Regions from separate parts of the Homo sapiens genome. Here all the other regions are linked to region 1. Evidence: promoter capture Hi-C in 16 types of primary human blood cells and fetal thymus (Javierre and others, 2016). All regions are on one chromosome and are shown on one strand. The core of a region is centred on a gene start or on the middle of the fragment in contact, and the rest is flanking DNA. Distances in the headings are between cores, read along the strand shown.

What was found. Contacts are between HindIII fragments. The CHiCAGO score rates a contact against its expected background, and 5 or more counts as called.
Region 2: a fragment that was not itself captured here is called in contact with the fragment with the promoter of GDAP2 in region 1 in 1 of 17 cell types (M0 macrophages); the score reaches 5.7 in M0 macrophages.
Region 3: a fragment that was not itself captured here is called in contact with the fragment with the promoter of GDAP2 in region 1 in 1 of 17 cell types (total B cells); the score reaches 5.3 in total B cells.
Region 4: a fragment that was not itself captured here is called in contact with the fragment with the promoter of GDAP2 in region 1 in 1 of 17 cell types (total B cells); the score reaches 5.4 in total B cells.
Region 5: a contact is called between a fragment that was not itself captured here and the fragment with the promoter of GDAP2 in region 1, in 1 of 17 cell types (neutrophils). The highest score is 10.4, in neutrophils.
Region 6: a contact is called between a fragment that was not itself captured here and the fragment with the promoter of GDAP2 in region 1, in 1 of 17 cell types (total B cells). The highest score is 5.2, in total B cells.
Region 7: a contact is called between a fragment that was not itself captured here and the fragment with the promoter of GDAP2 in region 1, in 1 of 17 cell types (monocytes). The highest score is 5.4, in monocytes.

Annotation. Positions count from the first base shown.
Region 1 is chr1:117,928,319-117,930,940 of GRCh38, forward strand. It overlaps GDAP2 (ganglioside induced differentiation associated protein 2), which reads right to left and starts at 1,303. Exons shown (of 14, transcript NM_017686.4): 1 at 1,130-1,303. WDR3 (WD repeat domain 3) reads left to right here and starts at 1,421. Exons shown (of 27, transcript NM_006784.3): 1 at 1,421-1,464. RefSeq lists enhancers at 1,228-1,522, 1,404-1,573. The HindIII fragment of the contact is 4,170 bases long and covers 176-2,622 here.
Region 2 is chr1:119,639,433-119,642,054 of GRCh38, forward strand. The region is part of intron 1 of ZNF697 (zinc finger protein 697); the gene reads right to left. Among named protein-coding and RNA genes, the nearest start is that of ZNF697, 7.5 kb to the right of the region's middle. The HindIII fragment of the contact is 7,617 bases long and covers 1-2,622 here.
Region 3 is chr1:116,365,922-116,368,543 of GRCh38, forward strand. No RefSeq gene overlaps it. Among named protein-coding and RNA genes, the nearest start is that of ATP1A1, 6.0 kb to the right of the region's middle. The HindIII fragment of the contact is 169 bases long and covers 1,228-1,396 here.
Region 4 is chr1:116,560,109-116,562,730 of GRCh38, forward strand. The region is part of intron 1 of CD58 (CD58 molecule); the gene reads right to left. LOC105378925 (a long non-coding RNA gene) reads left to right here. Exons shown (of 3, transcript XR_947739.2): 3 at 1-1,079. MIR548AC (microRNA 548ac) reads right to left here and starts at 3; the gene lies at 1-3. RefSeq lists an enhancer at 2,410-2,559. The HindIII fragment of the contact is 813 bases long and covers 892-1,704 here.
Region 5 is chr1:116,580,108-116,582,729 of GRCh38, forward strand. The region is part of intron 9 of IGSF3 (immunoglobulin superfamily member 3); the gene reads right to left. Among named protein-coding and RNA genes, the nearest start is that of CD58, 10 kb to the left of the region's middle. The HindIII fragment of the contact is 6,350 bases long and covers 1-2,622 here.
Region 6 is chr1:119,148,504-119,151,125 of GRCh38, forward strand. It overlaps WARS2-AS1 (WARS2 antisense RNA 1), which reads left to right. Exons shown (of 7, transcript NR_125975.1): 4 at 2,062-2,243. Among named protein-coding and RNA genes, the nearest start is that of WARS2, 9.2 kb to the left of the region's middle. The HindIII fragment of the contact is 7,646 bases long and covers 1-2,622 here.
Region 7 is chr1:119,131,283-119,133,904 of GRCh38, forward strand. The region is part of intron 1 of WARS2 (tryptophanyl tRNA synthetase 2, mitochondrial); the gene reads right to left. Among named protein-coding and RNA genes, the nearest start is that of WARS2-AS1, 7.8 kb to the right of the region's middle. The HindIII fragment of the contact is 5,540 bases long and covers 1-2,622 here.

The DNA.
Region 1 (2,622 bases), core at 53-2,552:
TACGTAACTGAAAAATAGCTTTTTTAGAATTAGTTATTCCAAGGGGTGTTAAGATAGAATCTAAACTATGTAGTTTTCCATTGAAGCACACACTTCTCCCCATAATAATATAATGCACAGCACCTGTCAGGGATATTAACCATACATACCCACTCAAATGCTCCCTTTCCCACCAAGCTTATTAAAATAATAGTTTGTGGCCACAATTTCTTCCCTTCTCATTTATCCAATACACAGCAATCTTGTTTCAAAACTCCTATGCTGCTACAGCTGTCCACAGTCTCATCATACGCATTCTTTGCTATTGCAATTTTCTTGAATATGGAAGATTAGCTGAACATGCATTAAGCTCAGGAAACTCTAAAGAAAATCAGATAATGTAGACAAAAGTCTAATTTCTAGGCTGGCTGCAGATACCTTGTTCAAGAAGCGCCGGCAGGATCTTCTTTTGTACAGCTATGTTAGCTTTAATTTTGCACAGCTCTAGACATCAGAACTCATTTCTAAACACTTCTATGCAGCTCAAGAATAAAAGTAGCAGAAATGCAAGAGAGAAAAGCTAATTCCCACTTGGTGAAAGAGCACTTAAGTCTCAGTGAGCAAACAAGGAGGAGTCAGCCTTGGTCACTTCCCCCTCAAGCGGCCAGAGAGCGGAAACACAAAGCCAGGCCAGTGTCACTCCAGGGATTGCGGGAACCTAGACAACGCACCATCCTGGGCTCAGCGTCTACCCACCCCTCACCCGAGGTGCTCTCGGTTCCGTAGAATGTCCAGTCCACAGGAACGGCAACACGGACTTGTCTTTGGGACTACAACCAGCAAGAGCTCCCGCCTGCCCCATTTCACCTGCACCCTAGGGCGCCCGCCTCCTTGGCTACAGCACCACTGTTCCTAGTGCCCGCCGACTGCCCACCCTTTCACTTCTCGTAGAGACGGCGTCCCCGACAACGCCTCGGGAAAGAACCTAACCAACATGCGAGGAAGTGGCGCCAGGCTCGTTCTTCAAGAGAAGTGACAGAACTAACCCTCAGCCTGCAATCCTGACCAGGGCCGAGTCCCGAGCGCCTCGGACCGCGCCCCCGGCCCTCTCCGCCCCGCCTTCCCTCCCGGCCTCAGTCCCTCCTCTCACAGCACTCTGGTGGTCCCATCCGGGCGGCGGGCGGCACGGATCAGGCTCCTGGTAGAAGGCGGCCGAGCGACATCTCCGGCGACCCTCAGCAGGAGCGCGCCGAGTACGGCGAGTCAAAGTCCCAGGAGACTGGAGTGACCAGCTGCAAATGCTCTGGGCTGCGAAACACCGGCTTCCGCTCCTGGCCAGAGCTCACCAATCAGCGCCCGGCTTTCTCCGTCATTTCCTCCTAGAAGGCAAAGGGAACCTCTGGCGGAAGAGGCTTCCGGAACGGACCCGGAAGGGGCAGGTCTTGTGGGCGGGTCCAATCGGCTGGGAGCCTCGTGGAGGCTGAGGTGAGTCCTGGAGGTGCGTGGTTGGGGCGGAGAGCATTATCTGCGGCTCCGATTTTGCAGATTCTGGCTGAGGCGTTCGTGATGTCAGCAGCAGCCGAGACGGGCGTGTTAAAGGCCGGTTGCTAGGGCTGGGGGAACTCAGGTAACTACGGGCGTCCCCACAGCAGTACTTGGAAGCCCCTCAGCTACTCGGCGCGGTTGCGGGTGCTGAGCAGAGCTGCCTGACCGTGCGTGTGCACGGGCTGGCCTGAGGATGATATGACCGTGTGTTCGGTGTGTGGAACCCTCCGTCACCCTCCCCTGACCGAAGACTCGTTTAGGAATGTGTGGCAGGTCTGTTGCCACGGTCCAGGCCTTCAGTGCATCTTGGAAACATCGTTTTGGGGGCTGTAGGTTAGGAAGCGGAGATCATGGGGTCTCGGAAGAAGGTTTGGTCGTGAACTGTCAGAAAGGAGGCGAAAGCTGTGCACGTGGAACAAAGTGAACAGTGCAAGTTGTATGGGAGGTAGTTTAAATATCGAGGCGATGAAAAAAGGCTGCTAGAATTGGGCTTACTCGAAAGGAAGTGGGCCTCAGAAGATAATATTAGTTAAAAGAAGTAGAGGAGAACATGGATGTTATTCTAAGTAAAACGAATAATATGAAGAATACAAGGTCGCGGGACGAGGAAGGAAACTAGCCAGCCTGACAGGAAGGTTTATTCGAGAAATACGGGGGTTAGATAGGATGAGTTTTTGGAAACTGGCAAACGATTTAGCCTTTTCAAGGCTTTAGGATAGGGAAAGCTCATTTGAAAAGATTAGTCGGTAGTATTATGACGTTTAAATGAAAAGAGTGAAAAACATGGAGGCGGAGGTGCTAGGTGGAAAATCAGTGCAGTAATCCAGTGATAAAGAGCTGGAACTGAAAGTGCTGGAGAGAAAGGGATCCTGTTTCAGAGTAACAGTCAGGTGGAATTGACTAAAGAGAAAGAGGCAAAGAGAAGCAGTTTAGCATAGTGGTTAAAAGCAGAAATTTTGGAGTTAGACTGGCTGGATTGGGATCTGGCTTTGGCAATTAGCTGCTAAATGACTTTGAGTTAGCAATTTGCCATCTCTGGGTCTGAGTTCCTTGTCTGTAAAATAGAGATAGGAAGAGTGACTTCCCTTGTGGTGTTAT
Region 2 (2,622 bases), core at 92-2,591, 1.7 Mb after region 1:
TCTTAACCTCTGTCCCCTAACCCCAGCCCAAAAGGGTTGCTTTAAATTCCCCAGAAGGCACCCTGTTTTCCCTTCCTGAGATGCTTTTCGTCCTCAAAGCATGGGTTACAGTCTGTCCTTTTCCGGAGGCAGCAGCACCTGTAATGGTTAAAAGCTCAGATTCTGGCCAGGCATAGTGGCTCACGCCTGTAATCCCAGCACTTTTGGGGGCCAAAGCCAGTGGATCGCTTAAGCTCGGGAGTGCAAGATCAGCCTGGGCAGCAGGGCAAAACCCTGTCTCTCCAAAAAAAAAAAAAAAAGCCAGAAGTGGTGGCATACACATGTAATCCCAGCCACTTGGAGGGCTGAGGTGGGAGGATTGCTTGTGCCCAGAAGGTATTCACACCACTGGACTTCAGCCTGGGTGACAGAGCAAGATCCTGTCTCAAAAAAACCAAAAACCAAACAAGATTCTGGAGCCATACGACCTGTGTGAATCCAGTCTAGCTGTTAGCCTTAAGCAAATTGTTCAACCTCTTTTGGCCTTAGTTTTCTTCATCTATAAAATGGAGAGAACAACTGAACCTACCTTATAGGGATAGTAAGTGCTCAGATAGAATTATTATTATTTTTTCACTTTGTATGACTTAAGATACTTTTTCTTATTCTGCCTAATATTAGTTTTTTAAATAGAATCATACTTACAATAATTCATATCTTATTTTTGGCTCTCCTTTTTCTCCTACCACCTCCCAACTGTAAGTTCCTTATGGGAACAAACATTTTATTCACTTTGATAATTCCCTCACACAATGGACCTTCAAATAGTTCTTGAAATGGATAAAATCAGGAGTAATTATTTCTTCCCCTCGGTCTCAAAAGGAAGACCTAAAAAGACTAGGAAATCTAGTGATTTGGCAAAATCACATCAGGTAAGGTAGAGTCATAGAGACAACCTAACTCTCCCAACTGGATCCAATAACCTGTTAGCACCAGGAGCCAAACATGCTTAATTACCCTGCTAAATAGGTAGCCATGACAGGAAATGGCAATTAGCCTCAAAAGTTAGGCAGACCATTCTCAAAAAAGAATTCTACATCTCTTGGCCCAAATGCCAGCATGCTTTGTTTGTATCAAATGCCCCTGTGTGGGTCCTCCCTCCACTCCAAGGGTTTAACCCTTGATTCAGCTGTGCAAACAGAGGTGGCACAGTGCTGTTTATGTTCATTGTGGGGAATGCTACCAGACTGTCCCACTATGACAGGACAACTACTTCTCTCCCACCCAAGGAAAATTGGGACTAGCAGTCACAGAAATTAAATGACGAATGAAGAAAGACCAACATTTAATCTTCAAAGTAATTATGAGACTAAAGAAGTTGCTGGGTAAGGCAGGGCAGGGAGTGCATTCAAATACCGGGGAGATTTGCATTTAACATTAAGAGTGGCTATTCAGACTAAAGTTTTATTCTCTGGCAGTTTTCAAGAGTTTCATGTTTTGTTTTGTTTTTCTTACTACAACAAGAAAGGCATGGATTTCTTGATTTCTCTTCTCACCTACATAGAATCATCAGCCTAGAAAACCCTTTCCCTAAAGGTCCAGAATTAGGCTGGGAAACAAATGAAGGCTCTTAAGAAAGTTAGTAAAGATTACATGCCATACAGGAAGTGTTGACCAGGAATACTTACCACACCACCTATTCAATCAATAAACACAAGCACATATTAGGAAGTAGAGAAACAGAAACAAAAGATGTCCTGTGGCAACTGCCCCCCAGACTAGTGTAGGCTGTGGCTGCAGTCTGGTTAAATTCAACTGATGCTTATTGTTATAAGGGGGGTGGTAAAAGGGGAGTGTGTCTTCCAGTTAATTTCACATTTTGGTTTCTCAGTTCTGGAGTAAACTAGTTTTATATTAAATTAAATCTGGCACACATCCCCCCCTAAAAAAGGAAAAGATGGGGAAAGCTCATATACTAAAAAAAATAACAAGAAAAAGAGTCACAGGTGGGGAGAAAATGTTTGCAAAAAAATATATATGATAAAAGGCTGTTAACCAAGATATAGAAAGAACTCTTAAAACCCAATTAAAAATGGGCAAAAGATCTGAACAGACACCTCACCAAAGAAAATATGCAGATGGCAAATAGGCACATGAAAAGATTTTTAACACTGATACGGTTTGGCTGCGTCCCCACCCAAATCTCATCTTGAATTGTAGTTCCCGTAATCCCCTCGTGTCATGGAAGGGACCAGATGGGAGGTAATTGAATCATGGGGGCAGTTACCCTCAGGCTGTTCTCATGATAGTGAGAGTTCTCAGAAGATCTGATGGTTTTATAAGGAGCTTTTCCCCCTTTGCTCGGCACTTCTCTCTTCTGCTGCCATGTGAAGAAGGACATGTTTGCTTCACCTTCTGCCATGATTGTAAGTTTCCCAAGGCCTCCCCAGCCATGCAGAACTGTGAGTCAATTAAACCTCTTTTCCTTATAAATTACCTGTTTTGGGTATTTCTTCATAGCAGCATGAGAATGAACTAATACAAACATCAATGTCATTTGAGAATTTCAAGTTAAAACAAGATGCCACTACTCGCTCATTAGAATGGCCAAAATCCAAAACACGACAACATCAAATTAGCTAT
Region 3 (2,622 bases), core at 62-2,561, 1.6 Mb before region 1:
CCTGAGGAAGCCCGTGCAGTCTAGATCCTGGATATTCAGGCTTCTTATTCTGAAGGTGAAAATCAATCAGCTGGGCTACGGCTCTGACGTTTTAGTGGACTTATTTTCCTGGTCCTCGCCTGAAGTTTGGTAATAACCAGACCAGTTCAGACAGGTGGAGTGCTGACTGACCTCTACCACCCAACTGGGTGCACTTGGCTGGCTGTGTCTCAGTAGACTGGTTCTTTGTTGGATAAAGGAGATTGACGTGGGAAAAGGTGAGCCAGCATAAAGTAAATTCTGTTCTCATTCTCTCCTCCTGTAGACAAATTTTGTAGCTGCCTTCATTCTTCCTTGGACCTTATATCTCCCAGGCTAAGTAGGAATTTGGAATCAAGACGAGATAATTGCTTACCCTCTTTGAACAGTTACTACATGGCAGGCAATGTTCTAGTGCTTTAAGTATATCATGTCAATTGTTTCTCATAGCAGCCCACTGGTAGAGTTACTAAGTTAGATAGTTTTTCTAGATAAAAAGCTTCATGCTTACATACATTGTTTGAAGAAGGTATTTGGTTAGAATCCTGTCATGTGATCAGCTATTTTGGGTCCACCACCTCCATCACCACCATCCCATTACCTCCTACCATCACTTTCATTACCACCACCACCATCTCTGTCTCCACTGTTAACTCTTAACACTGTGTCCATGACCAGACGTCAAATGTTAACAGGGACTTGTCAAAAAAGCAAAAAGCTGAGATGTGTTAGGCAGGGACATCTTTAACTTGAGCTATTTGGACAACTTTTTTTTTTTTTTTTTTTTTTTTTTTTTTGAGGTAGGTCCCACTATATCACTCAGGCTGGTCTTGAATCATTGGTCTCAAGTGACCCTCTCACCTCAGTATTTGGACAATTGAAGCTAAATTTTTCATTAACTTGGTTTCTTCCTTCTTTTCTTTATCTTCTATAATTTCGGTCTTCAAATGTGAGATTGCTTACCAGGCAGCTTAACATTTCTTTAGTCAGTGGAGTTGCATCAAGCACTGGACTCTGAGAGAACTGGAAACCAACAAAGTCCTTGGCCTATTTGGAATTCACCTTAGCAAAAAACACTAGGAAATCAGATAAAATGCCTGAGCCATCCCCGCAAATTGAACTATCTTCTGAGGGCTAGGGAGTTGTATGTTGACCAATTGTTAAAATTATGTCCTAATTCCAGTTTTTCATCATATCCAGCAATTCAAAAGCTTCTGTTCAAGAGAAGTAGTAGATAATAGGGATGGTAATGGGAGTTAAGGCATGCTGCCTGTGTGTGCACAAGAAAAGGAAGAAAATAAAATTAGCATACTATGACAAAAATATACAAGGAGATATAGGTATCTTGAGATTCTGAATTCAATAATGTGATCAGAGAAGCTTTCATAAATGTGCTGGCTATGAAGGCATATCTACTGGAGAAATCTTTCCAAAGCACAAATCTGATCATGCCCTGCCCCTGCTTAGAACCCCACAGTGTCTCCCTATGGCCCATAGGATAAAGTCCAAGCCCTTTGATGGCATCCAAGTCCTCCACAATCTGGACTCTGCTCACCTCTCCAAGCTTACTTCCTGCCGCCATTCCTCTCACAACCTAGGCTCTCGCCATTTTAATCTTCTGGCCAGTCCTCCAACACTCAGTTTGTTTCTGTCCTGAAGACCTTACCCATGTGCTACTTTTGCTTGCATCCTCCTGGTCCTGCCTAACATGCTGCCATTCCGTGAACTCCTAACCATCTTTCACAATCCCAGCCAGGGAAGCCTTTCCCACTCTGCAGACAGAGCTGGCCACTTCCTCCTTCATGCCCCCATGAAGGCCTGCATATATGCAGCACCTCTCACTGTGTTACTAATATCTCTTTGCATGTCTTTTTTTTATGCCAGATGGTGAGCTATTTGAGGGTAGAGAATGTGTCTTAGTTATCTTTATACAACAGCAACAAGCACTGTGCTAGGCTCAGAGTAGATATTCAATAATGTTTATTCTGATTTTTTGCATGAACTAGTTCTTACTTCTGTTAAATACTATACACTACCAGAGTTAAGGATTGGAGTATGCTCTTTATAAGAGGGGGAAAAAAGGGGGAACCCTTCTTAGGGGCTTATTTGTAAGAGTCCACATGTAGAGGTCACCATCGCCAAAATGGAAGCCTCCAGAGTAAAACATAAGCTGTTAAAAATGAATTGAGCTGGTTACTATTTTTGCACCTGACCTACTTTTTGGTTACTTCTGCTGTTGCAAAAACTTCCATTCTTATAAATGAACCAAACCACTTTTTGATGGTTTTGTATTCTCTCCTCTTAAGGTAGCTTTTTACTGAAACAAAAATCTGCACAGTCTCTGAAACCCAGCTTTAATGCAAAGGCATCTATGGAAGAGTATTATTCCCAGTAGGACCAACTTCCAAAGAACTCTCTCAATTGTTTTTCCATGGAAGAGTTTAAGGCCAAGAATAGCAAATCTATCCACCACGATGATGGCACTTATTTCCTTAGTGCTTGTGGTTGTGCCCCCTGGAGAGCAGGAAGGGTTAGATGCCAGTTACCTCCCGCCACCTCTTCCCAGCTTTGGGCTTGCCCTTTCTGAGCTGTAAGGCTGCCTGA
Region 4 (2,622 bases), core at 48-2,547, 1.4 Mb before region 1:
TACATGTCGAAATGAAAATATTATGGATATATTAGGTTAACTAAAATATATTATTAAAATTAATTTCACATGTTCCATATTATACTTCTATTTGAGAGCACTTCTTTAGCCTGTTGTTTCAAGACACTCACATCCCACCTTTCTCAAAGGCCACATTTGTCTTTGACTGTTCTCACCTTAGATAGGATACAGCTGAGATCCACAGTATGCTTTAGGGAATAAGGTTCTTACTAGATCGGTTAAGGCTGTGAGTGTTTTTAAATCTATTCTCCAAAGTCTGATTCAAGGTATTTCAATACAGTACTGATCATTTCACTAAAATTCCTTGAGAATCCTTGTTATTTTCTAGATACTCAGTTCATCGTTGGGAAACTCTATTGCAAGTAGTTTACAATGGCACAGCCTCATTAGTTTCTTATTAATCTGATTTTTTATTTTTTTCTGAATGTGTATGTTAAACTTCAATTTTCTTCTAATTTTTAACTGGCATAGGAAGAAAATGTTCAAGAAACTACAGACTGGTCAGCCCAGTGGAAATTCAGGCACTAATCTCAACAGACATTTTGGGGAACATTGTAAAGTAAGCAAAGTTCACTAGAACCTATAAAGTAACCAAAAAGCATTTTCCTTGGAGGCTGATGGGCAGGCACTGAAAGTTATCTCCAAAGAGGAACTGCTAAAATGTTTTCCCCTCCTTTTCTAGGGACAGTCTCTGTATCTTATAGTCACACTTTATATTCAAACCTGAACTTATCTGAGAAAAGAGAAACGGCTGCATCCTGGTTTCACTTACAACCCTGAGATGGAAGTTGAGATTTGTCATTGCAGAATTTAAGGGTCTGTGTCCTTAAGTAAAACCTTCTGGTCACCCCTCAAGTAAAGCTTCAAAAAAGCTTAGGCACTTGTGCAGAAACAGCATGAGAAGAAACCAAAAGGCAGAAAACTTACACATATAAGGGCTGATTTATGCAAAGTTTCTACTTTTAAACAGAGAAACCAATACCTACCCTCAAAGCCTGTATTTACTAAAGAAATGTTAGAGTGACAAGGAGGTCAATAAAATAAATTATTCAAATCTGGTTCTTAAAAAGAGGTTCTAAGACTATTTTAAAACTTCTGAAAGATGCCCATCAAAATTAAAACAAAAAAACATAGCAACGAATACAATGAGTGAAACTTGATTAGATCCGGGTTTTTTAACAAAAGACACTCTTGTGACAAGTGGGGAAATCTGAATACGGGTAAAAGTTAGGTGATGTTACAGGATTAGTGTTAATATTTATAGATGTTATGATGTTATTGAGATTATGCAAAAGTGTCTAGGAGTGAAATGTGGGTACCTAGAGAATGTAAATATAATAATGTTAATAATAAATATGTCAATAAATTGCCATTGTAAATTCTATGTCCCAAAGAAGCACCCCTCACCATTACAAATTATGATATTAAATACAATTTTGCATGACTGGTAATTGTGCTGACCTATATTTCCCATGTTTTAGCAGAATTTCATTGGACAATGTATACATGTTGGATATAAGAAATCAGTAGTACTCATCTTCAAAAAGTTGCTTAGTGGATCTCAGGCTAGGGATACAACAGAGCATATAAAGGAATAGGTTCTGATTCAGAGAGAATCAAAGTTCAAGTTCACTCTGCCACTTATTTGCTGTGTGAACTTGGACACATTACTGAACCTACCTAAGCTTTGTTCTCCTATTAAATGTTCCCTATGTAATAAAATCAGTGTGACAATTAAATAAAAACATCTCAAATCTGAAGCATAGCTCCTGGCACAGAGCAGGTACTTACCTCCTAGTGGCTATTATTACTTACACTCTGTTATAACACTGGGCCTAGTTTTCCTATAGGAACACACAACACTATTTTAACTTGGATTATCTTTGCTAAATAAAAAAACACAGACTGTCTAAGTCTCAACTCCAGCAAAGCACATGAACAAGTCTCACATAATAATGTGAGATAATTTCAAATGGAGAAATGCTGGACAAATACATTGTCATCTAATGTTCAGATTCAACAATCTTTACTATTAAAAAAAAACAGATCAATATAAGGAAAATTTTAAAAAATAATACATGACTTCTGCATACAAGGAACTTAAAATCTAGTTATGCAGATAGTTGGCAATAAAGGATCTGTAAAATGTCAACAACAGCAGAATAAGACAGACTCTGTTAATAATAAAATAGTTCCTACCTTTTTATTTTTTATTTTTTTGCTCTGTTACCCAGGCTGGAATGCAGTTGTGTCATCATGGCTCACTGCAGCCTCAAATTCCCAGACTCAAGCAATTGCCAGGCTCATCTCAGCCTCCTGAGTAGCTGGGACTACAGGCGTGCACCACCACACCTGGCTAACTTTTTGTAGAGATGGGGTGTATTAGTCCATTCTCGCACTGCTAATAATGACATACATGAGACTGGGTAATTTATCAAGGAAAGAGGCTCAATGGACTCACAGTTCCACATGGCCAGGGAAACCTCACAATCATGGCAGAAGGCAAAGGAGAAGCAAAGTCATGTCTTAATGGTGGCAGGCAAGAGAGAGCGTGTGCAGGGGAACTCCCCTTTATGAAACCATCAGATCTTGTGAGACTTA
Region 5 (2,622 bases), core at 90-2,589, 1.3 Mb before region 1:
TTTTGACATACATATCTGTTTATATCTGCATAAAATATCTGTGGAAGAATTCATAAGAAGCTGGTAGTGTGGTTCCTTATGGGAATCCCGGGGGGAAGAGGTGTTTATTTTCACTGTAACCCCTTGTAGTGGCTGAATAGTGTCCCTCCAAAATGCATGTCCACCTGGAACCTCAGAATGTGATTATTTGGAAATAGCAACTTTGCAGACGTAATTAGCAAAGAGGAGGTCTTGCTGGATTGGGGTGGGCCCTAAATCCAGTGGCTGGTGCTATGAACTGAATTGGTCCCCCTCCAAATTAATATGCTGAATTCATAACCCACGATGTGACTACATTTGGAGGTAGGACTTTTAGGAGGTAATTAAAGTTAAATGAGGTCATAAGGCTGAGTGAGACCCTAATCCAGTAAGATTGGTGTCTTATAAGAAGAAGAAGAGAGATCTCTCTCCAGGTGCATGCACCGAGGAAAGACTATTCAAGGACACAGCAAGAAGGCGCCGTCTGCGGGCCAGAAGAGCTCTTACCAGAACTTAGCCATGCTGGTGCCCTGACCTCAGACTTCCAGCCTCTAGGACTGTAGGAAAATACATTTATGTTGTTTAAGCCACCCAGTCTATAGTATTTTGTTATGGCAACTGAGCAGACTAAGATAACTAGTGTCCTTATGAGCACAGGAGAGAAGACAGAGAGAAAGTGGCCATATGATGATGGAGGCCCAAACAGGAGTGAAGCAGCCACAACCAGGGAATGTCTGTGGCCACAAGGAACTGGCAAAGGCCAGGAAGCATTCTTCCCTAGAGCCTTCATGGGGAGCATGGCTATGATGACATCCTGACTTTGGACTTCTGGCCTGCAGAACTGTAAGAGAATAAATTTCTTTTGTTTTAAACAATCAAGTTTATACTAATTTGTTATGGTAGCCCTGGGAATTTAAAACACCCATGCAGTAACTTAAATTTAAACTGTGTGCATGTAGCTTATTGCCTAAAACACAGAGAACCCAAGGAGATCAGTATCTCTCCAAGGATTAAAGCCAGATAACAGACGACAAGGCTGAAAGGGCCCTTCCCTGTGAGCACAGATGTCTCAGGAGGATGTACGCAAAGTGTCCTCCCTGCTTAGGCGGGAGACACAGAGTAACCACAGAGAGGGACCCCAAGCAGGTGAGTCACATCTCACAGATGCCAACAGACTTGAATCTGTTTTGCTGTCTTTTTTTTTTTTTTTTTTTTTTTTTGGCTCACTGTAATATGTTCTAAACAAATAATTCACTCCCTAACTCCTAAAAGGCCTCCCTTTGGCTCTGCTTATGAAATGTTCATGAAAGGTGCCAATGTAATGTAAACTGAAGTAGAGATACCAAATCAGATCCTACTTGGATGAAGACCAAATAGGAGCACTTTCCAAGTATTGTCCTGGGCTTTCAATGAATTGGCTTAGTGTCGCTCACAGGTGAACATGTCGCTCACAGGTTAACACAAGGCTGGGCTTCCCATTGCTCTTGTGGGGGCTCTGCCAAGCCCCTCTGCACCCACCTCCTGCACCCATCTGGAATCTCAGTGTGCACTGCTGGCACAGGAGGGCTCAGTAACCAGCTACAGGTGGCAGGCCCAGCTCTCTCAGGGACAAGAACATGCTTGAGAACAGAATATGGCCGGGTGGGGACTATTCAATCAGTTCACAGGTAACTCAAACTCACTCAACTCCTCAGTTGTAACTCCAAGGCCATTAGAGAGCCCTACTAGAGACCAAGGGGAGCCCCCCACCCCATGCTTTTCTCCTCCAGAGTCTAACATAGTATCCCCACGCTCCTGGTGACTGGCTAAGGTGTCAAGGGAGGTGGCCCTGGGCGATGTGCAGTGGAACTTATCATGGCCAGGGGCAAGATGGCCAGAGACCATCAGTTGAGCTCCTCAGAAACACCTCCTCCCTCTTCAATCTCCCTTTGCTTTCTTGTCTTCTAACCGCTTAACATTTTTCTTGGCCCCTTCAAATGCCTTGTCTGCATAAATGACTCAATACAAGTTTTTCGACAGAAATTAATTTCCACCTTCCCACAATCTCTCTCCCCTTAACATGTTTCTCTACCAATTTAGTTCCCTGAATCTGCCCCCTTCTAGAATATGCCAACCCTCCTCCCTGTTTGGACTTAAATACTCTCTTCTTTTCCAAGTATAAGCCATGGAAAGATGCCGACCTCTGCCCCTGCTGTCTGCGTGACACTAACAGCTCCCCTGGATCTCACTGTGACCGCCAATTCCTGGCCTGTGTGTGATGATTGTGGTTTTCTCCCTTCCCCAGTTGTGTGAGCCCAACACAACTACTAATCGACTCATCTGCAATCTTAGTGAGGATGGGAGCCCTTCATTCCATGTATTTCAGATTATTGTGAATGTCAACTCTCAGCAGTGGAAGGTGATTATTTTCCTAACAATACTTTTAGAGCTATATTATTTCAAGTCTTCCATGTGTTTAACGTATCCCTCCGAAAAAAATCTTTGAAGTACGTCTGCACAATGAATGTTATGAAACCAGTAAAAATGGTGGCTATGAAATGCTTTCACAGACATGGGAAAACGCTCATAAAAGAAAGTTGAGTGGGAAAAAAGATCACATAAAAC
Region 6 (2,622 bases), core at 72-2,571, 1.2 Mb after region 1:
CCACTAGATAATTCAGTATGAGTCCACACAACCACTGACAGTGAAAACAGGGACATACTTCTTGGGGCCTTTCTCCTGGTCTGCATGCACAACCCCACCACAGGAGTAAGAGGCGGGGGTACACTTACCACTTACGTTGTCACGGCTAGTTATCACCTCAGTAAAAACAAGACTACCATGCCTAGTGCACAGAAGGTCACAGGACACAGGGCTGTGGTTTCTCCTCAAAGAGTGACATTCGTTTAGAACTTAGTTCATCCCTCTTATCCCAGACTGCTTGAGAATTAAGGAGGGAAGGAAAAGAAGAGGGTCTCTAGCTCTGATCTTTACTGTGTTGGGAAGATCCCCACTCTAATCCTGTTGCCACTCCTTTTTTTTTTTAAGACAATAATAAGGTCTCCTTTTCTAGAACACTCAGCTCATAAGTTTTTAGACCTGTCCTTGGTGGCCGGACGCGGTGGCTCACGCCTGTAATCCCAACACTTTGGGAGGCCAAGGCAGGCGGATCACGAGGTCAGGAGATCGAGACCATCCTGGCTAACATGGTGAAACCCTGACTCTATTAAAAATAACAAAAATTAGCCGGGCATGGTGGCAGGCACCTGTAGTCCCAGCTACTCGGGAGGCTGAGGCAGGAGAATGGTGTGAACCCAGGAGGTGGAGGTTGCAGTGAGCCGAGATCGTGCCACTGCACTCCAGCCTGGGAGACAGATCGAGACTCCGTCTCAAAAAAAAAAGTTTTTAGACCTGTCCAACTGACATTTAACACCATGAGATGGTGAACTTGGGGAAGACATGAGACTAGTAACACACACACACAGATTTTCAAGAGCTTGACATTCCATTATTTACTCACCTAGCAAATACTTATTGGGTGTCTTTTGTGCCAGGCACTGTACTAAATGCACAGAGCTGAATAGGATACCATCTGTGCTCGTCAAGATCTCCGTTTAATGAAGGAGAAGGCAAACAACAAACAGAATTTCAAGACATAAGATGTTGGCTGTGGGTTTGTCAAAAAAAAAAAAAAAGAAGAAGAAAATTCAAGAGAAACATCTTTGTATCAGGAAGCCCTTGTGATTTCCTTAGAATCACACTTTGTCAGCAATCCTAGCCTCACTGCTTGCTGTTCGTATAACCTTGGACAGGCTTCCTAAGAGTTCTGGACCTCAGTGTCCTCATCTGAAAATGGGGGCAAAGAATAAGCTCCCAAAGTTTCCTTACTGCTCTAAGATGAGTACTGAGCTCAATCTTGAAGGAGTGTCTGTATAGAATTTTGAATTGGAAAGAGGAGCAGGGTGCCCTTAGGAGAGAGAACTGCATGAAGAAAGCAAGGATATGCAAATGAATAGAGCATAAAGAAAGGTGAGAGTAAAGAGAATAAGGTACCGACACATCTCCCTGCTTCCTCCTTCACCCGCTTACGTGTATTTTCAATCAGCCATCAGAGTGACCTATTAAAATGTATGTCAGCTCATGGTCACTACTCTGCCCAAAACCCTCCAGTGACTTTCCATGTCATTTGGAAAAAATCCAAAGTTCTCAAAACCTATAAGACCTAAGTGACCTGCATCCCCCATCCCAACCTCTCTTTCTGGCCCTTTCCCCATTAACTTCCCCCTGCTTTGCTTTACTCCAGACATGCTGGTCTCCTCACCAATGCTCACCAGTTACCACCTAAAACATTTTACTTTATTTTCTCCGCCTCTAGAACATAAGCAGCATGGGAGCATAGCCTTTTGTCTGCTTTATTATGCATCCTCAAAGTTCAGAATGTGCATGTCTAGTAACATATTTGTTAAATGCATTTTCTTATTTACAAGTAAGGAAACTAAGATCAAAGAGAATGCAAATGAAGTCACACTGCTCTTTAGGAGAGGGTGGACCAGTATGTGCACAGATTTTCTGTTTCTCTGCCCCAAAGGTAGATAGAATGATGGGCCCTGAAGATGGCTATATGGCAGAAGGAACTTTGCAGATGTGATTAAGAATCTTGAGATGAGAATATTATCCTGGTTTATTCTGTTTAGTCCAATGTAATCATAGAGGTTTTTCTAACAGGGGAGCAGGAGAGTCAGTCTAAGAAGGAAATGTGATGATGGAAACAGAGGTTGGAAGATGGAAGAGGACCCAGAGTCAAGGAATGCAGGTAGAAAAGAAAAGCCTGGATTCTCCCCTAAAGCCTCCAGATGGAACACAGCCCTGCCTCCACCTTGATTTCAGGACTTCTTACCCCAAGAATCGTAAGCTAATACATTTGTTTTTGTTTTTGTTTTTGTTTTCTTTGAGATGGAGTCTTGCTCTGCTGCCCAGGCTGGAGTGCAGTGGACTGATCTTGGCTCACTGCAGCGTCCATCTTCCGGGTTCAAGCGATTCTCCTGCTTCAGCCTCTCAAGTAGCTGGGATTACAGGCGCCCACCACACCCGGCTAATTTTTTTTTTTTTTAATACTTTAAGTTTTAGGTTACATGTGCACAACGTGCAGGTTTGTTACATATGTATACATGTGCCATGTTGGTGTGCTGCACCCATTAACTCGTCATTTAGCATTAGGTATCTCTCCTAATGCTATCCCTCCCCCCTCCCCCCACCCCACAACCGTCCCCAGTGTGTGATGTTCCC
Region 7 (2,622 bases), core at 78-2,577, 1.2 Mb after region 1:
CAGATAAGGATAGGAAGAAAGGCCTTTCCAAGAAGAGGTAATGGCATTAATAAGGAAGTAAAAGGGAGTAGCTCCGAGGAAACTTGGAAATTTTGTGAACTCTAGGGCAAAGGATCTATGTAAGATAGCAATGGTCTAGAGAGGTATTTTGGATCCGGACTGTGCAAAGTTTTTTGTTTTTTGTTTTTTTTTTTTTTGAGACGTAGTCTCACTCGTGTCACCCAGGCTGGAGTGCAGTGGCGCGATCTCGGCTCACTGCAAGCTCCGCCTCCCGGGTTCACATCATTCTCCTGCCTCAGCCTCCCGAGTAGCTGGGACTGCAGGCGCCCGCCACCACGCCCGGCTAATTTGTTTGTTTTTAGTAGAGATGAGGTTTCACCGTGTTAGCCAGGATGGTCTTGATCTCCTGACCTCGTGATCTGCCCGCCTCGGCCTCCCAAAGTGCTGGGATTACAGGCGTGAGCCACAGCGCCGGCCCGGACTGTACAAAGTTTTAAACGTTCTGTGGGAAGTCTGGACTTTATGAGAAGCCCCCACAGGCTTCTCAGCAAGGGAACAACATAATTAGAGCTCTGCTTTTGGGAGATTAACAAAGTCAGACTGATTCTAGGGGGTGTGGTGGGGGGCGGGAAGAATAGTATGGCAATGGAAAGAATCCTACTAAGAGTGATAAGAGTAAAAGAGAGAAAGGTTGTTGGATAGAATTATATATTATTGAAGAAGTCATCATCAAGCAGGGAGGACCTACCAGGTGCTGTGCAGTGGCCAAGGAACTTTATATATGGTAGGATTTCAAATCTACATAAAATTCTTACAATGTGAGGAGTATTATTAACATGTTGCACATGAGACAACTGAGGTTTAGTGAAGTCAAAAAACTGCCTGGAATCACATTTAAAATGTGGTGGTAGAGCCAGGCCTGGCTGATCCAAATAGTCATGCATGGTCTACTTTCCCCCACTTCCTCTTAATGAAGAGCCAGTCAACTTATTGAGTCTGGATGTCTCATAGCTTAGTGGCATGGGAGTAGCTGGAAGGTTGCCAGCCATGGGAAAAGCCAAAGTTTGCCAGGTAGCTAGTAGCCAGTCGGTGGGCCAATCTGACTCTCTCCCCAGGACTGGCAAGAGTTCCACACAGTCTGGTCCTTTACATCTCCCTTGGGACTCCAACTTCGCACTGCACACTTACCCTCAGCCCAAGAAGCCTCTTCTCTTTTCCAGCAAATTTATGAACTGGCTGCTCAGACCATTCTCCCCATGGGAGGACAGGAATCCAAATCTGCGATTTGAGTAAACAGCTCCATTTCCCTTCACTATTATATTCTCCTGCTTCCCAAAAGGGGTCCAAAGTAACGTGGTGAATAAAGAGTAGGCTTTATTCATATAATAAAGTTGAACACTCCATGCAAAGTCTCTGTTCATGAGGAGTGTGACAAAAAGTTCATGAGAAGCCCTTTGTTTGATGTATAAAATGAATTCTGTTCAATATTGCTAATTTTAAAGCCTCATCACCATTCTAATTAATATACTAATATACTCACCTTAATACTCTATAATTAATGAATTATAGACCTCTTTAAGAACTCCTTCAAAGGACAATCTTTCAGAATCAAATTCTTCCTTGTCCCTTGCAGAAATGGCCCACAACACTATTTTCTTACTTCCCACCTTCTGACTGTACTTCTGCCACTTCTTGAAGAAAGCACTCTAGCCATAAATCCCAACTAGACCCTAGATAGTGGTCCCTTGGTCAGCCATCAACTTTAGCTCTCACCACCTCTCCTCTACCTGCAGGGCTCTGTGCAGGTTGCCCTTTTAGCTATAGACTGTGTATAAACAGAACTTCCTACATGCACCTTGGGACTCATGTGTTAAAAGCCCTTATTTTATACAAGGTAATCCTAGTGGTAGTAGCCAAATAGAGACATGGAGATAAATTTACAAGACAGCTTTGCTTCTTCCTCATAATTCATTGAGCGAAACAAGACTGTAAGAATAGCAACAACAAAGGATGATTTATAATTTCTACTCTACATGTCACCATGGCAAGATATATAAGTGACTTTCATAGAACAGATTTAAAAGTTACAAGGCAGTTATCAGCAAATTAACATGTGTACTTTGCTTCAGAATTTATCATCATTGTAGTTAGTGCACAGGGTTTGGAATCAGGCTAGCTGGGTTTACATTTTGGTTCTGACACTTGCTAGCTATGTAACCTTAGGTTAGTTATTTAACCTCCCAACATCGTCATCTATAAAATAGGGCTAATAGCACCTACCTTATTGAGTTATGAGGATTAAATGAGTTAATGAATGTCAAATACTTAAAACCATGCTTGGCACATAGTAAGCATCCAATGAATGTTTGCTATTATCACCACCACCTCCATTATCATCATGTTTAGTAATAACTGAAATTATCATGGTACTATCAGACCAGGGCCCAAAAATGAATTAAACATTAAACTAATTTTAGTACAAATAGGATAACAGTCACTGAAGTAAAACTTGAAAGAACACTGATATTTACTTTATATTCATCATCTTGCAAAACTGGTTAAAAAAAATGGGAAGGCACAATAAAAGTTTAATCAACGAGTAAAAATTTTTGATGGCTAAAT